Regions from separate parts of the Homo sapiens genome. Here region 2 is linked to region 1. Evidence: promoter capture Hi-C in 16 types of primary human blood cells and fetal thymus (Javierre and others, 2016). All regions are on one chromosome and are shown on one strand. The core of a region is centred on a gene start or on the middle of the fragment in contact, and the rest is flanking DNA. Distances in the headings are between cores, read along the strand shown. Region 1 holds the start of C9orf78 (chromosome 9 open reading frame 78). Region 2 overlaps FNBP1 (formin binding protein 1).

Evidence for each region. Contacts are between HindIII fragments. The CHiCAGO score rates a contact against its expected background, and 5 or more counts as called.
Region 2: a contact is called between a fragment that was not itself captured here and the fragment with the promoter of C9orf78 in region 1, in 2 of 17 cell types (total CD8 T cells and naive CD4 T cells). The highest score is 5.5, in total CD8 T cells.

The regions. Positions count from the first base shown.
Region 1 is chr9:129,833,884-129,836,583 of GRCh38, forward strand. It overlaps C9orf78 (chromosome 9 open reading frame 78), which reads right to left and starts at 1,392. Exons shown (of 9, transcript NM_016520.3): 1 at 1,256-1,392; 2 at 824-883. The coding sequence starts at 1,338. It overlaps USP20 (ubiquitin specific peptidase 20), which reads left to right and starts at 1,575. Exons shown (of 26, transcript NM_001110303.4): 1 at 1,575-1,616. RefSeq lists silencers at 1,324-1,673, 1,704-1,853 and an enhancer at 1,825-2,325. The HindIII fragment of the contact is 4,419 bases long and covers 1-2,700 here.
Region 2 is chr9:129,956,085-129,958,784 of GRCh38, forward strand. It overlaps FNBP1 (formin binding protein 1), which reads right to left. Exons shown (of 17, transcript NM_015033.3): 5 at 2,407-2,469; 6 at 1,276-1,380. Among named protein-coding and RNA genes, the nearest start is that of FNBP1, 86 kb to the right of the region's middle. The HindIII fragment of the contact is 1,536 bases long and covers 484-2,019 here.

The sequences.
Region 1 (2,700 bases), core at 142-2,641:
CACCGCAGATGCTGGAAGAAGGGTGCGCTGGTGGTGAAGTGGTACACTTTGCCACTTTCCTGTAAAGCCATTTGGCATTATCTTGGCCTGGAAATCTCATTTCTAAGATATTCTCATCATGGAAAGTGCAGCTAAAGATAAATTTAAGAGAATATCCACTGCAGCCTTATTTGATAGTAAAAATTTACAAAATCACCTACATGTCCCAAAATAGGGGATTTGTTAACAAATTACAATACACACATCTGGTGGAATATTATGCAGCCATTAAGGCTTTCTGAAAAATATTCCACAATATGGGTGAATGCCCACAATGTCATAATGAGTTGAAAAGAACAGGGAATAAAAGTACATAGAAAGTTGTTCACAATCTGAGAGAGAGAGACGAAAAAAAACAGATTGGAAAGAGTATTCAATATTAATACCAGTGCATTCTTGGGTGGCTCTGCAAGGAAAAAAAATGTTAACACTGATCATTTCCGGATGGGAGAATTATGGGTGCTTTTTATCGTCTTGACTATACTTTTCTAAATTATACAAACTCTTAACGATCGATATGCATTTCACAATTAATTGGTTTTAATAAAAAACGCGAGTTAGTGATCTGTTTCTGTATCTCTGGAGCACACCCCGAGACGACACAGCTCAGGGCATGTCCTGGTTAAACATTTGCAAAGAACGCTGTTCTCCAAGTTGGGCAGTGGAAGGTGTACAGTGTGTCAAGAGAAAAATCTACGTCTGAGGAGATATTTGTGACAGCGACCCGGACGCGGATGTGTCTGTCGTCCCCGCCGCCTCCTCCTCCTCCCCGCGTGGTACCCACCTCACCCCGTTGGGCCTCTTCCTCAAGTTCTGTACCTCTCTGGTCTCTTCCAGTTTTAATCTTTAAAAAGAAGAAGAAGCAGCAATGCATAAGCTGAGTGATTCCCCGCGGAATCCAAAGCTAACAGAGCCAATAAGGCACCTTCGAGGGCATCCCAGCCCAGCTACTGAGCCACCAGCACAGTGGTCCAGAGGACGACCTTGTGCCTAGACCCACCGGGAGTCAGAGCCACTGCGCATCCCGGAGGCATCTCTCTCAACCGTTCGAGCTTGGGGCGGTGGCCTCACCCCTTGAGCCTCAATTTCTGCGTCCGCAGAAGGAACCACCACCCGAGCTCACAGTTAACAATGTCAGCGAAGCGCCGAGCCGGTGGTGAGTCCCCCAAACAAGTCTATCTTTACCAAGCCTATGGGAGCCCCGCCCCAAACGCACCGAACCTCCTCTGAGTCCTGCTCATCTTCCTCTGACTCCGAGTCGCCCCGGCGGCGACGGAAAATCTTCCGGACGACCGGCATGGTGACAACGGCCGAGTTGTACAGCCGCCGCGCCTCTGCGCAGCGGCCCAGGCTGCTTCCGGCGCGCGGCAGAGCGGTCAGAGCGCCTGCCCCGTCTGGCCCCGCCCCCGGCACGCACAGTCCGCGTGGCCACGCCCCCTCTCCTGGCGTCAGCCTCTTCCGATTGGACGGCAGAGGGAAGGAGGTGGGGCGTCGCCAGACGGCCCCACAACCCTGCGCGTCGCCTCAGAGGGGGCGCGCTTGACTGACAGGCGGCGGCGGCGCAGTTGCGAGTGCAGGTGAGTTCCGGGCCGCCACCGGCTGCTTCTGTGGGCCGGGCCTCTGAGCATTGGCGACCCCAGCCCGGCTCCGGGCTGACAGGGCCTGGCTTCGCCAGGTACGCCAGACGCAGCGGCCCGGTGAGCGGAGCCCGGGACCCCCCCGGCCGCCGCCGCCCCTCTCCCCTCCTCCGGTCGGCGCCCAGGGGGGCCTCTGGGCCCCAGCACCACCCCACTCTGAGCTCCCTGGGGGCTCGTGGCTTCTCCAGAACCGGGGCCGCCCCCCTCTCATTTCTGCCGGGGCCTGACCTAGCGTTGAAAGCATCCGCGTGGCGTCTCGCGTCTCGGGCGCTGACTTTTCTTTCCTCGGGCTCTGAGCCCTGACGTGCGTTTTTTTCTTTCGGAACAAAAGATGACCACTTCTCTGCGGTGCTGACTTAGAGTCCCAGCGCCGACTGCCTCACAAATAATGGCCCCCAGCTTCTCCGCGAGGAGAGGCGCGTCTGATGTTTTGAAGCCACGCAAGAGGGTTTGAGCCGGGGGACTCCTCCTCGGTGCTTGCCGGCCACCCCCCTGGACCTTCACGGGTCTGGTTTTCCTCCTTCGGCAGGTCTGTCGCTCTACCCTCTGCCCCTTCCACCCCGAAGATGCTGTGAGGATAAAGTTTATTTGAAAAACTGGTATCAGCAAACGCTTAGGAAATACCTAAATGCATAAATAATGGCTTCTAGGACTTTTAAGAACCCCTTAAGTAACAGTAGTTTTCCTTTTCTCAGTGTCATCCCTTACTTTGAGAACTACCTCTTATTAAGCAGTTACTATGTGGCAGGCCCTGGGCAAAGCATCATCTCATTGAATTCTCCCAGCAATCCTTTGAGGTAGATTGTTTTTCGTTTTACAAATGAGAATGCGGAGTCTCCGAGGGGCAGTGCACGCCTCAAGTTACCCAGCTAGGAGGTGGAACAGGAATTGGTTGCAGGTCAGTCTCTGCCGCACGGTTTGCACAGGGCCTGGCACGGTAGGAGTGCAGTAGATGTTTGCTGCTGCTGCAGCTGCTGTTACATCTCATTGGCTAGGGGGAGGGGCCGATGGGGGCTGTCTGGGG
Region 2 (2,700 bases), core at 2-2,501, 120 kb after region 1:
CTGGACTCCTGGGCTCAAGCAATCCTCTTGCTTCAGTCTCCTAAGTAGCTGAGTCTAGGGGTATGTGCCACAGCACCTGGCAAGAATATGTATTTTAATATATTTAATAATTTTAGAGAAAGGCATACTAATATTAACGTATACCTAGTCTTTAAGCAAGGAATTTGGCAGAATTTGGCAAATAATAGTTCACACCATTTCCCAACTAAACTCAACTCTAACTGATCTGTCAAAAGCTCAACAAATCTATAAAAACTCAGTGCTTTCACCCACATACAGCATGAAGCTATGAATGCCCAAACAACCATGGGCATCATGAATGAGTCCTTGTTATGTAAAAGCCTAATTTTGTTTACATTGTATTGATGACTTTAATAAAAATAAAATTCAGCTTCTAGGGAAAAAACGCATATTGAGCCACAATGAGAAACAGTATACACTTTATAATATTTCTAGTTGGCAATACAAGTCCATTTAGAGAAAAGCTTTTGAGAGGACTGAAATATGCAAGGCTTCAACTACAACCTCACTGTTATCAACCAGGAGGAATCAATTAGAAGTCAGGCAAGCAGTGAGACTATTGCTCTAAAGGAACCATTATAAGCAGCCAAGCTCTTCCAGATGGCCCTGTCCTGTCTCCTCCGGCTCTCAAGAAATTGACTTTCTCTTTGAAAAGCCATTAAGAGCCACAACCTTCTGGAACGTTGTTCCCAGACTGTTCATAGTCTAAGTCTCCACTTTATCACCCTGGTGACTCAACAGATAAAACGTCTCAAATTCTAACACCGAAGATTCCCCACACTTGAGCTTCTGGTCCCCACAATGGTTGACACAAAATGAAAATGATTCCCCATGTAGCGCCTTTTGTGGCTACATTAGAAATGAGAACTTGGGGATGGGTGGTCGGTGATGAACACTCACAGGGGAAATGAAAGACACACTTGAGCTTTCTTTTGTCTTTTTTTTTTTTTGGCGATAGTTTCGCTCTTGTTACCCAGGCTGGAGTGCAGTGGCGTGATCTTGGCTCACTGCAGCCAACGCCTCCTGGGCTCAAGCGATTCTCCTGCCTCAGCCTCCCTAGTAGTTGGGATTATAGGTGCCTGCCACTGCACTCAGCTAATTTTTGTGTTTTTCGTAGAGATGGGGTTTCACCATCTTGGCCAGGCTGGTCTCGAACTCCTGGCCTCAGGTGATCCGCTCACCTCAGCCTCCCAAAGTGCTGGGATTACAGGCGTGAGCCACCGTGCCCGGCCCACACTTGAGCTTTCACCTCACCTTTTCAACATCCGCTTTTGTGACATTGATGTCAGCGTCCATTTTCTCAAAGTACTGCTGCGCCCTGTCCGCCTCTTTGCAATCGCGTTCAAATCGCCTTTTACTCTAAAATCAGAGGAAAATAATTATGAAACCATAAGAGTCCTACGAGAAGATGTAATTTTATCTAAAGCTCCCAAAGAGCATTGTTCTTTTTCTTTTTTTTTTCTTCAGTCAGGGTCTCACTTTGTCACCCAGGCTGGAGTGCAGTGGCGCCATCTTGGCTCACTGCAGCTTTGACCTTCCCGGCTCAGGTGATCCTCCCACCTCAGCCTCACTAGCTGCTGTGACTACAGGCATGCACCACCATGCCCAGCTAATTTTTGCATTTTTTTGTAGAGACTAGGTTTTGTCATGTTGCCCATGCTGGTCTTGAGCTTCTGAGCTCAAGCAATCCTCCCGCCTCTGCCTCCCAAATTGCTGGGATTACAGGCGTGAGCCAATGTGTCTGGCCCAAGAATACTCTTCTCTGAATTGATTTCTTATATGTCATAATTTCTAGAAGTTATTTTAAAATCTGCATTTATTTCCATCAAAACTGTCTAATCTTTATTATTTCCACGTGACTTTTAGAAAAATACTCAACTTGAGCTCTTTTGGCTCAACTTTAGATAATGGTTCTAGAAACAAATTAAATGAGAAAAATCTATAAAGATGTTTCATTAGTGTTTTTATGTGCATGTTTTTTACTTTCTGATTGACTCAAGCTTAAATTAAATTGAAACTGGAAAATCTATAAAGACATTTCCTAGGCTGGGTGCAGTGGCTCACGCCTGTAATCCCAGAACTTTGGGAGGCCGAGGTGGGCGAATCACTTCAGGGCAGGAGTTCAAGACCACCCTGGCCAACATGGCAAAACCCCATCTCTACCAAAAATACAAAAATTAGCCGGGCATGGTGACGTGTGCCTGTAATCTTAGCTACTTGGGAGGCTGAGGCAGGAGAATCACTTGAACCTGGGAAGCAGAGGTTACAGTGAGCCGAGATCGCACCATTGCACTCCAACCTGGGCAACAGAGGGAGCCTCCGTCTCAAAAAAAAAGAAAAAAAAATCTATAAAGCCGTTTCTTTTGCTGTGCATTGTTCACTTACAGATTCAAGCTGCTTCCAGCAAGTCTCGATGTGCTGCTGTGCTTTACGGCCATCGTGAAAGTTCTGCAAAGGGGAAAACACACTGGTGATTAGTACCCTCTGCTTCTCTTATGAACCCAGGAGGAAACATTTTCATCCACTTAAACAACATCTAAATATTGAACCTCTAGTATGTATGCTCCAAAGAAATTTAAGAGTTGAAAGGGGTAGCCGGGTGCGGTGGCTCACATCTGTAATCCCAGAACCCTGGGAGGCTGAGGAAGAAGAATCGCTTGAGCCAAGGAGTTCAAGACA